Regions from separate parts of the Homo sapiens genome. Here region 1 is linked to region 2. The links are contacts of gene promoters, found by promoter capture Hi-C in blood cells and fetal thymus (Javierre and others, 2016). All regions are on one chromosome and are shown on one strand. Each heading gives the region's core, a stretch centred on a gene start or on the middle of the fragment in contact. The rest is flanking DNA. Distances are from core to core; before and after follow the strand shown. Region 1 holds the start of MIR630 (microRNA 630). Region 2 holds the start of HEXA (hexosaminidase subunit alpha).

Region 1 (5,785 bases), core at 2,047-4,546, 210 kb after region 2:
TGTAACACTTTATTGCTTTAAAATTAATTCCCATGGAATCATGGCTTTCAGAAAATACCATTTTAATATTAGAAGCAGTTTGATGTGTCTGTACATCTAGACCTGAACATGTGCCTATTAAAATAAAAAATAGGTGCTTGGTTCCGAGTCTGGATAAACTATAGGGATGCCTTAAAAATAAGTAAATGCCTCTTTTTTTATTATTAGAGGCTGACAACAAGTTTTTTTTTTTTTCTCTTTGATTACAGATACTGTGAGAGTCGACGAAGGGTTTTGTTACAGCATGTGCATGAAGGCTATGAAAAAGATCTGTGGGAGTACATTGAGGACTGAGAATGGCCCTGCATAAAATGAACTCTGAAAACTTTACCATCTAGAGTGCTCATGCAATTAAAACAAAACAAACACAAACAAGGAGGCACTAAGCCTATTCTGACACCACTGGTCTGTAGTACCAGAATTGTTTTGTTAATGGAAAGTTTAAGTAAATTATATTGTAATAAAAAGGTAGATAAACCATTGTACAACAGTATTCTAGGCCACCAACAAAAGTGTGACAGACACACTAAAAGCCCTCCAACTTTAACTTGTAACGTAGCTTCATTCTCAAAGCTGACTCCTTTTTTTTCTTTTTCCTTTTCCTGAGTGTAGTACAGTTAAAATTTCAAACAGCTCCTTGACACTGCTTTTCATGTTCAAACCAGCCATTTTGTTGTACTTTGGTAAAGGACCTCTTCCCCTTCCTCCCCTACACATACAGATACACCCACACACAGACTGACTCTCTTTCTCTCATACCCCAAGGTCATGAGTGAATGATGCTTAGTTCCTTGTAAAGAAAATCTTGGGATGGGGAAAGGGGTAGGCAGCAAGAGGATTCAACAAACGAAAAACATAAAAACTTTGTATATGACTTTTAAAACAAGAGGACAACACAGTATTTTTCAAAATTGTATATAGCGCATATGCATGGACAAAGCAAGCGTGGCACGTGTTTGCATAATGTTTAATTACAAAAAAATATTTATTCTTTAAAAATCTTCAAGATTATGTCTATTTGCTGTGCATTTTCTTTCAGTTTGCTTATCTTTCCCGGGTTGGGGTTGGGATAAAGGTGTGTCGGTTTAGCACCTCTGGAAGACCTATCTAGAGCTCTTTCACTTTCCTGAGGTTATTTTGCCCTTTCTGGTGTTGGTATGTCTGTTGCCGGCCATGGGCCTCATGCCTTGAATTCCTGCTCTTGATCAGGGACAAGGGAGGTCAAGCTCTGACTAATGCCATGACCTGATTAAGGGGTACAGCAGGGAGTTTTGTTGCTACAGCTCATGAATTAACCTGTCCCAACCTAATCCCCCTCCATGGCATCATGCCTCTACCCAAGCCTTTGTGTGCCCATGTTATGCACACAGCTGTAGGCATTCTTAAGTCCCCTGTCGCATCCAGTGGAAGCATTTTAAAATTTCTTTTACTTTTTGGTTTTCCCTTAATTGCTGCTTTTCAGATTTTAGTTATGGCTCGTCTGCTCACCCCTTCTCTACATTAGGGTGTCAAAGAGAATGTTTTGCTTTAAATATAAATAGCCATTCATTTAGTCTCAGATTGTGAATTTAAAATGGTGGATACCGAAATTGCTTGTGTGTGTTGCTGTGGGTTTGGTTTGAAGGCAAACACCCCTAGAACATGATATTCCCATCTAGTGCATTTAAATAGAAATCACTGAGTTTGCTGCTTTTTTATTGTCAGCAGATAGGAGAATTAATAATGCATTTTAGCTGTGATGTCCATTTTTATGAAATTCCTACTAAGAGCTATGTTAAAAGTAAAGGATGGTGGTGGTTGTATTAACTATATACCTGTTTAGGCCATTCTGGCTGTGGTATTTTTCAATAGGTCAGCATCTGTAAATCTGTCAGTTTTATACAGGAGTGCAGAGTGAACTAGGCAACTAGATTAAGAGGTCTAAATATGAAATACCAGTTGAGGCTGAGGACCTCTTCGTCTTCCTTTAAATGTCTTTTGCCTAGGGAGTGTTTACCATTTGTGAGGCAGCTTTGTCTGCTCTTACACTGTACATCCTATTACTCCATTGGGAAGTAGGTTCACTTTCCTCTGGCCTTTTGCCTAAGTTAGGCTTTGCTGAATCAACCCTACTTTTCCTTTTAGAAAAGGTTGTTACAGGAGATTTACTGGCAACTGTTCTTTTCCCATCAAAAATCAGTGAATGTTTGCTGAGTATAAATGCTGCTTCCTTAAACCACTTGTCGCTTTAGGATCAACTTTACCTGTACCTTTTCTCCTTTCCTCCCTTGCCACCTCAGGTGCAAATCTGAACTCAGTGTCTGCTTCTTCCATTTTCTCGTCTCTCTCCCCTCTTCCCCCATTATCCATATGACATTATTTTACTTCAAATGACAGCATCAATCTTAAAAAGATATACATTAAAACTAAGGAGTTTTTTTAAAGAAAGCCTGAATAAGTTCCTTTCCCTGGTAACTTTGAAAAGCAGTCAGAGTTGCTATATAGATATATGTGGCTCCTTTAAAATGCTTTGTGTATGTGTGGTGTTTAAAAAAAAAAAATCTTACCAGTTAACTTTGCAGTGTCTAGGTTTGAGTGTCATAAATCCACGTGTTCCTGTTGCAACAAATACCCAAAAATTGTGTGTGCACTTCCTAATACCAGTCTTCACCCATGGAGGAACAGTGCTTTTTAGAGATGCTTTCTATTTCAATGTTGGCATACTGCCTGAGGGTATTGCAGTTGTGGGTGCATTCCCTAATTTGTATGATCAAGATGAACTGGCCCTTTTCTACTTCCAAGCTTTTAACAGATACCACCATATTTGACAGAATTCCCAGAGTGAATTGCTTGTGTTATTAGTAGATTCAGTGCCCCCAGCTGGGATAGGCAAGCCATGACAGCTTCCCTGTTTCACCTACAGAAGTCTTATCTGAGGGATCTATTCACAGTAAGCACCAAGGTCTCCATGTCTTGAGGTCAGTTTCATTGTCTTTTGAAAAGTGCATGCTTCATTTGAACAATTCATTCAGCAGCAGATGGACTTTCAGTGATTTAAAATAAAATTTTGATCCAAAGCTCAGGACACAAACCACAGTGGTAAAATTGAGTAGCATATAATATCAGACTAAATTATCTGTAATTTTCCACAACCCAGATTGTATGTGTTTTATGTGTGTTTAAATAAATATGTTAGATACACGTGTATACATACACCCATATACAACAGATCCAAGACTGGCTGACTTCATTTGAAATGGTTGAATCTGCTGTGTAATAAAGTGGTTCAACCATGATTAGGAACTGAAATTTAGTAGAAGAGGGAAAAGGAGTTAATGTAACAAATTATTTTAGCTACAAACCCCGGTAATAGAGCACTTGGGGGATGGGATGGGGTGGGTTGGTGAGACAATCAGAATGGTAAATTGATTAAATGCTCCTAACCCTGTAATTTTGTGCATAGAGCACCCTATGCTGTGGAAATAACTGTTCTTAGATTTCATTGTAACTGGACTGTTCAGGTTGCCCAGAGGGAAAGAACATTCCTAATTCTAATAAAATAAACTTTTATTTTGTTATTCCATTAGTTACTTATGTTTATTTTTATAGTTAAAAAATGACTAAAGGTGGCTAATAGCCACCCGTATTATGTGCCTTATTCACTGTTCCCACTTAATATAAAATGTCAAAAATTGGTTGTTTCTTTGCAGGGAACTGTGAATGAGCCCATTCCCCCAACATTTAACTTGGTTAATGAAGCTTTCAGAGCATTTTCTGAAAGATTTCCAATTTCTGCATCTCAGATATTGAATTTAAATTGTTTGTGTTGTAACAGTGATACAAAAATGTTCAATAGCTCTTTGAATGCCACTTTTTTTAAAGAAAATACTTTAAAAGTCATTCTTAGCTAACCTCAAAACTCCTTTACATTACTTTCATTTTAGCTCACTCTTAAAGCTGATACTGTTATATAGGGATGAAGGGAGAGTTTTCTTAAAGAAGGTCCCAAAGTTGAAGATCGTTTGTCATTGATACTCTGGCCAAGTCCAGGTTTTAGGACAATTTAATTTACTCTTATTTGGATCTGTAATTATGGGAGTTTATCACTTTTCCTCTTCAAAGCACTTCAACTTACTGTCTAAAACAAGTGGAGAAGAAATTGCCATTTTTTATAAAGGAGGAAGATAAGGCTCACTGAGGTTAAATAACTCCCTCAATTTTTCATTTCCTTCTACCTGAAACTTAACATCATGCTACCTCTTTGTATCATATTTTGTTATTCTGGTCACAGAATGACCTAGTATTCTGTACCAGGGAAGGTAGTTCTTAACTATATTGTACTTTTAAACCACATTAAAGACTATTATAAATGCCTATCACTGCTACTGTTAGAGGTTGCTCTATACTATCTCTGATCTTTCATTTGTTGCAGTTTGCAACACAGTAGTTGAGAATAAGTGGTTTAGTATGATTTGCTTAATAGTACCCAAGTAATTTGCAGTTGTTGGTTTAGTTATTCAAATGAATTTCCATTGTAAAGAATTTTGGATAGTCTGCAGGAAATTGTTACAGGATGCACAGAACATCCCATATCCATTGGATCTCAGCCTTTGAGGCTTTAAAAAGATGATAAGCAGTGAGTTTTATGAGAAAATTTTGGCTCCTTCAGAAACAGGAAGATAAGTGGGCCCCTCAGATTTTTCATATATCTTTGGGGATAAAGTTGGTTATATCTGGTTTATTTTAGGGATTTTGCTTCTGTAGTTACCCAAGATCAAATAGCCAACTCAGAAATACTCAGTTGGATATCAATCAAATAGTGCCTACCAGGGGAGTAAACAGACAACTTTTAGGTTTTTAGTTTTTGCTTTTGTGTGGAGTTGAGTCCAATTTTTAAGGCAACTATTGTTGACCTTTCTCTAGGCGGTAGCATTTAGGATGGGAAAAAATAATATGAGTTATGTGCGAAAAGCAGTTTTCAGGCTATCATTTAGGGCCACAGATATGCTTATTTAGGACTATTTTCAGGGTAGGAGCCAGTTAAAGTTTGTATATCAGTCACACATTGATATGTAGCAGCTCTATCAATACCACAACAACCTTATTACCATAGTAATTCAGGGGTCTCAAGTAATCCAGGAGTCTCAAACTGAAATGTCAACAAGAGCCAAGTAAATATTTTAGAAATAGAGTACCCTGGAGTAGATGGGCTCTGAGAGGAGCCTGTGAAATCCAGACTTCATGTGAATTCTCTTAATTAAATGTGGGCCAAAGAAAACCCGGCCATGGGCAGTTTTTTTTTCCCAGCTTCTACTAGTCTTGGCTTGCAACAATGCCACTGTCCATCTGGCATTACCTAGACCAGTGATACTTAAACTTGACTGCGAATTGGAATCACTGAGAAGCTTTAAAAAATATTAGTGCCTGAGTGTTACTTTATGGAGATTATGATTTAATTGCTTTGGGTAGGCATCAGTAATTTTTGTAAAGCCCTTTACGCATTCTCACCCCTAATTCCAGCCGGTGATTCTCACATGCAGACTAGGTTGAGATCCTTGATCTAGACTGCCTTCTATAGTTGCAAAAAGAGAATATAGGCGAGCAACTCCAGATCATAAGGGACAAAATGATTCAAGGCAAATTGACTGGCTCAGAATAGGGCCTCACTGGAGGCCCTAGTTGAGTGGGTTTTGTGGAATGGTGCCTCCCAAGGGTCTGGTGTGCAGTGCCCAATTTGGTTTTTTGTTGGTTTTCTGGTAAGTGGTCC
Region 2 (5,731 bases), core at 2,254-4,753:
ACATCTTTGCTTTGCAAACAGGATGTGGCTTAATAATCAAACAGGGAACTAGATTCATTCAAGTATCTAGTTCCTAAAATAAGTCTATTTAACAGGTTCAACAACATGCAACACACACCCTCCAATTGGTAGAAACACCTCTCAATGACAAAGAAAGGTGGCAAATACTAAACACCTTCACAGACCATTTAGCAACTGGTGGGACTAACCCTTGAAGGTGAATTCAAAATAGAACTGAACCTCAATACCAGACTTCTTTTTCAGAAAAGGGAGTATGAATTCTTAGTTTCAGGTTCAGACAAAAACCAGAAGTTGTATTGCATTAGGAAAAACACTGGGCTGGTCAGGTGGCTCATTCCACCCTGTAATCCCAGGACTTTGGTAGGCCAAAGCAGGGGGATCACTTGAGCTCAGGAATTGGAGACCAGCTTGGGCAACATGGCGAAACCCCATCTACAGAAAATACAAAAATTAGCCAGGTGTGGTGGCATGCTCCTGTGGTCCCAGCTACTCAGGAGGCTGAGGTGGGAGAATTGCTTGAGACCGGGAGGCAGAGGTTGCAGTGAGCCAAGATTGTGCCACTGAACTCCAGCCTAGGTGACTAAGCAAGATTCTGTCTCAAAAAAACAAAAACAAACAAACAAACAAAACCTACTGGCCCAGAGCCTACAAATAAGTTGTTTGGAGGAAGAGGATGGAAATCTGTTAGTTAAGATTTAACCTGCATATGTTGCCTTCTTTACTAAAATCAGACTCATAAAGAAATGTATTCTGGCTTCAGCCTTGTTGGTATTGCTCTACCTCTATTTGTTTCCCATGCTATTGCTTCATCCTTGTTTCTGCAGAACTAGGATTTTAGCTCAAAGTCACCTAAAAGCCTCCACAGGAAACTACATTCCAAAGGGAAGACTCCATGGGAAGAGCAATAGAGAAAGAAGTTACTTTTAAGTCTTTGGTAATGTTCACCCAACCCAGTTTTCATTTTCTCTCAATGGACAAGAACCCTCAACTAATAAAGCTAATGAACTTACAGGAAGGTAATATATGGAAATAAACATCTTATTGAATTTATCTGGCTCTAAATCTCTTTTGTTAGGGAATTTATAGTATTCCATTATCTTACAATCTCTCCATTTCTATCTACTTGATTAAACTATGGTGCTATAGCAATGGAGGTGAAGGCCTAATTTAGAAGTATAGGAATTAGGTATGGCGCGGTGGCTCATGCCTGTAATCTCAGCACTTTGGGAGGCTGAGGTGGGTGGATCACTTGAGGCCAGGAGTTTGAGACCAGCCTGGCCAACATGGTGAAACCCCATCTCTACTAAAAATACAAAAATTAGCTGGGCGTGGTGGCAAGCACGTGTAGTCCCACCTACTCGGGAGGCTGAGGCAGGAGAATCGCTTGAACCCAGGAGGCGGAGGCTGCAGTGAGCCAAGATCGTATCACTGCACTCAGCCTCAGTGTAGGCTGAGTGATAAAGCGAGACTCCGTCTCAAAAAAAAAAAAAAAAAGGAAAGGAATTATTCTCATGTATACAATAGTAGGAAACAACCTATAAAGCTTTTGAGAATCTTATAATTCACTGTGTACCTCCCTCTGTTTCATATTTTCGCAATTGAACTATAGAGCCTAGGCCTAGGTCTTAAGACTTTTCTTGTAACCTTCAGAGTGCCCAGCACTGGGATTGACATATACCAGTTAGACGGATTTTTTTTTCCATAAACCAGGCTCAAACTCTTCTAAACCAAAATCAACATATTCTGAGTGCCAATCTTGGGTAAGGCACTCTATTATTTGTCATGAAGGATTCAGAGGAAAATGTGATCTACCACACTCAACAGCAGGCCTCTTATCCTCTCCAGCTTAATGCATTTTACCAGTTAAGGACTACCCTGATGCTGAGATTGTGTTTCTTTCCCCAAATCAAATGTCACTCTCTAAGGGTCATCTGTATAATTAAATGCTTTTAATTCTATATATCAAATGATAACTTTTGTGAAAGTAATTTAAACACACTTGAAACATCATATAAAATATTACTACAAGACTTAACCGTAAATGTGGCTCCCACCCCCATAACATCTATACAATATAACCAAAGAGCTAGATTCCAGATTATCAAGAAACTTCTAAATTTTGAACCCATGCAGCAGAATTGTATTCCTTTACATTGTTGGCTCGACTTACAAATGTGCTGTGGAATAATTATCCTCAAATACAATTTTCAGTACTGATTACATAGCTGCCTAAAAGAAAACTGTTAGCCCCTTCCATTTTATGTGAAACCAATGTCTAAAGCGCTCTTGACTCTTCAACCCCACATTTTCCCCACCCTCATCCCTCCTCAATCCCCAGCCCCCACTCATCACATCCACTAGACCTGAACTTTGAACTCAATCATAATTCTTTGTGCCTCTGCTCAAGCCCTTCTTCCTGCCTGGAATACCCTCTTTTCAGTCCCGGCTAATTACATCTACCATCCCATTCCAAGTGGCCGCTGGAAACTCACTTCCTTATGTTCTATGATTTCTTTCACAATTTACACTTTTTTTGTTTTGTTTTGTTTTGTTTGGGGGGGGGGGTTGTTTTTCTGAGAGGGAGTCTTGCTCTGTTGCCCAGGCTGGAGTGCAGTGGCGCGATCTCAGCTCACCACAACCTCCACCTCATGGGTTCAACCGATTCTCCTGCCTCAGCATCCCGAGTAGCTGGGACTACAGGCGCGCGCCGCCACGCCTGGCTAATTTTTTGTGTTTTTGGTAGAGACGGGGTTTCACTATGTTGGCCGGGCTGGTCTCGAACTCCTGACCTCGTGATCCGCCCGCCAAACATTCTATGTGCCAGAAACTTGTATGTAACTTTGCATAGTTCTTGTATTATGTCTCCCCAATTTTGAGTGTTTTCTCTGGTCTCTACTCAGCCCTTGCTCACAGTCTCACTAGGACCCTGGCTAGCTTGAACACGGTCAGAAGGATCACCTTAGATTTCTGCTGGCACAGTATTTTCCATAAATTAATCTCCTGATTGAACCGTAGTCCTATAGTAGTTATCTTTGGATGAAAACCTAATGCAGCTCGAGGAGGAAGTGGAGTGCCTGTGATCAGAGGGCTGGACAAAAGCCCATAGGGCGTCTCTGGAGCCCTGGGGGAACTGTCCCCAGGCAGGCACTCTCAGGGCCCAGGAACAGGGCGGGACAAGTCCGACTCACCTGTGAGGTAAGGACGGGGCCAAGACCCGGAACCGAAAAGCAGGTCACGATAGCGCTGGAAGGCCTCGTCGAGGACTGAGCAGCCGGGCTGCGCGGCCGAGCTGACATCGTACTGGAATTGAAAGTTGTTCGGGTAAAGGACGTAGCGCTGGTCGGAGGTTTGGAAGTTCTGAGGCCAGGGCCAGAGGGCCGTCGCCCGTCCTGCGAACGCTGCCGCCAGCAGCAGCGAAAACCAAAGCCTGGAGCTTGTCATGGCCCGCTGGTCTCCCCTCTCGGAGGGGGCTGGCCACGTGAGACCCTGGTCAGGTGAGCGGCGCCCCCGTGACTTATCGGCGAATCACGTGACCAGAGGCGGCTCTGCGCCTGCGACCCCAGGAGGACCCACACCCTGCCCTTTCACTTCCGGCCTGGACCTGAGGCTCCTGCTACGTGCAGCGGATTGTGCCGGGCGTCGGCAACTGCTCGGCTCGCCAGACTGTTCACGGGCCCAGTAGAGCAGTAAATAACCGGCCACCCCTGCGGCCGTGCCGGCCGTGATGGAACTAGACAGCTCACCCGACTCGAGAAGAACGGGGTGGGGAGGCGAGGACGCAGGGCGACCTGGAGAAGAAAGTTTCCCAGATGGCTCTAGGGTGAATCTTGAATGTTGTGATGCAGCTCGCCAGGCCTACGGGGAGGTAAAGGACTTGCCAGGCTGAAGTAACTTCAGAAGCAGAAAAACGGAGGATTAAAACCACAAGTCGTTGTGATGTGAAATTTCGTGGGGCAAGAAAGGGCCGGAAGTAGGTAGTCTGCACGGCTCTGCTAGAGAGAGGATCACAAGATCACACAAATGTGATCTACTTATGACTGGAAAAAATGTGTACTTTCAGAGCCAGCTTGAGGCATTCCATTGCCTCCAATATGAGCTCTTCCCTTCAAGATTGACTATAAATCTCTTAGTTACAACTCACATCCCCTTTCCCCAGACAAAACCCCACATAGCCCGGTGTGTATTTACTGAAAGCAGTAAGATATTGCTGGGGCTTTGGGTGCAAGATGGAGAGTGCTCAGAGATAATGACAGGGGCCTGGTCCTGCAGGGCCTTACGTAGAAAGTCAAGGAATTTATTCTCTGAGCAATTGAAAATCATCCCGAAAGATCTGCATTTTAGAAATACCATGTTGAGTAGTTGCATAAGAAACCAGTTAGGAGGCCCCTTTTTATTGGAGGTAGAGAATAATGAGAGACTGAACTACAGAAGTGGGGAAGGAAGACAGCTGTAGATCCAAGAAATAGTATCCGGAAGAGAGGCTTGAGAAGTGATCAAGGAGAATTCCACAGTTATCAGAGACCCTGTCTTCCTTGTTCACCACTATATTACCAGAACATAATACAAATAATGCTATTGTTATTGGGTGGCATTATTTGGTTAGTAGGTACTTTTTAAAATTTTTAAATTTAATTTTAGTATTAAAATACATGTAAAGATCAGGAAAATGAACTTTTAAAAATAAAGGGCTTTCACTGGGCATGATAACACATCCCTGTAGTCCCAGCTACTCCCAGCTATTCAGGAGGCTGAGGCGGCAGGATCACTTGAACCAAGGAGTTCAAGTTTAGCCTGGGCAGTATAGTGAAACCCTTTCTCAAAAACAAATAAAGGGCTACTGAAATAATGATAATTTATATTCAGGTCGTAGGTACCTAATTACTAGTTACACATACATGGCTTTGATGGGAAATCAAAGAAACATTCTGACAATACAGAGATTCATCAAGCAATTTGTCTTTGAAAGTTGATTATTCAAAAACAGAGCTTGTAGCAAAAGAAGCAGAAATTAGATCCCACAGTCATCAAGTTTCAGATCCTAAGGCTTGCATTCTTACACCAATTTCTTCTTTGCTTAAATCTTAATTTTCATCAGCATTAATTAAGTGTCTGGGTACTCTGCCAGTCAGGAGAGATGTTACCAAAGGTACAGGATTTGAGAAGTATTGTCAGAAGAGCCAAGTTCATAATCAGGCCCACAGGATCAATAATTTGGGGGAGTGTTTAGAGCAGTTTCAAAGATGAGAGCAGTAGATCAAAGTAGAATTTCAGGACTGAGCACATGCCAAGGCACCCTTTTATGGATATTCAACCTGTACCAGAAGGGAGGAGTCATTTACTTAAAAGAGTTACACAAGATGAAAGAGCTAGATCCAAATAAAGACGCTATAAAAATTACTAATGGGGCTGAGCATGGTGGATTACAGGGATTCAGTTATTTAATTATTACTGAAAGAGCTCTTTTAGACTTAACCAGATTTTTAAACCAAATATTCTTATGCATACATAAAAGTAAGTTACACAAGATAAATTTGTTGATCTTCCAAAATATCCCCCCTTACTATACACTAGAGTGGGGTTTTGGCATAATGGCAGACAAATAGATGGAACGGAATAGAGGGTCCAGGAAAAGAGCCATTTGATTATTACTCCATTTCAATGAAGACACCAATTTAATTTAGTGGGGAAGGCAAGTTATTTTCAATAAAAG

What was found. Contacts are between HindIII fragments. The CHiCAGO score rates a contact against its expected background, and 5 or more counts as called.
Region 1: a contact is called between a fragment that was not itself captured here and the fragment with the promoter of HEXA in region 2, in 12 of 17 cell types (M1 macrophages, M2 macrophages, M0 macrophages and 9 more). The highest score is 10.1, in M1 macrophages.

What each region holds. Positions count from the first base shown.
Region 1 is chr15:72,582,960-72,588,744 of GRCh38, forward strand. It overlaps ARIH1 (ariadne RBR E3 ubiquitin protein ligase 1), which reads left to right. Exons shown (of 14, transcript NM_005744.5): 14 at 249-5,785. The coding sequence ends at 333. MIR630 (microRNA 630) reads left to right here and starts at 4,258; the gene lies at 4,258-4,354. The HindIII fragment of the contact is 957 bases long and covers 2,819-3,775 here.
Region 2 is chr15:72,372,511-72,378,241 of GRCh38, forward strand. It overlaps HEXA (hexosaminidase subunit alpha), which reads right to left and starts at 3,504. Exons shown (of 14, transcript NM_000520.6): 1 at 3,210-3,504. The coding sequence starts at 3,462. It overlaps HEXA-AS1 (HEXA antisense RNA 1), which reads left to right and starts at 3,603. Exons shown (of 1, transcript NR_027262.1): 1 at 3,603-5,731. RefSeq lists enhancers at 2,740-3,295, 3,296-3,852, 3,744-3,883, 4,214-4,263. The HindIII fragment of the contact is 8,315 bases long and covers 1,563-5,731 here.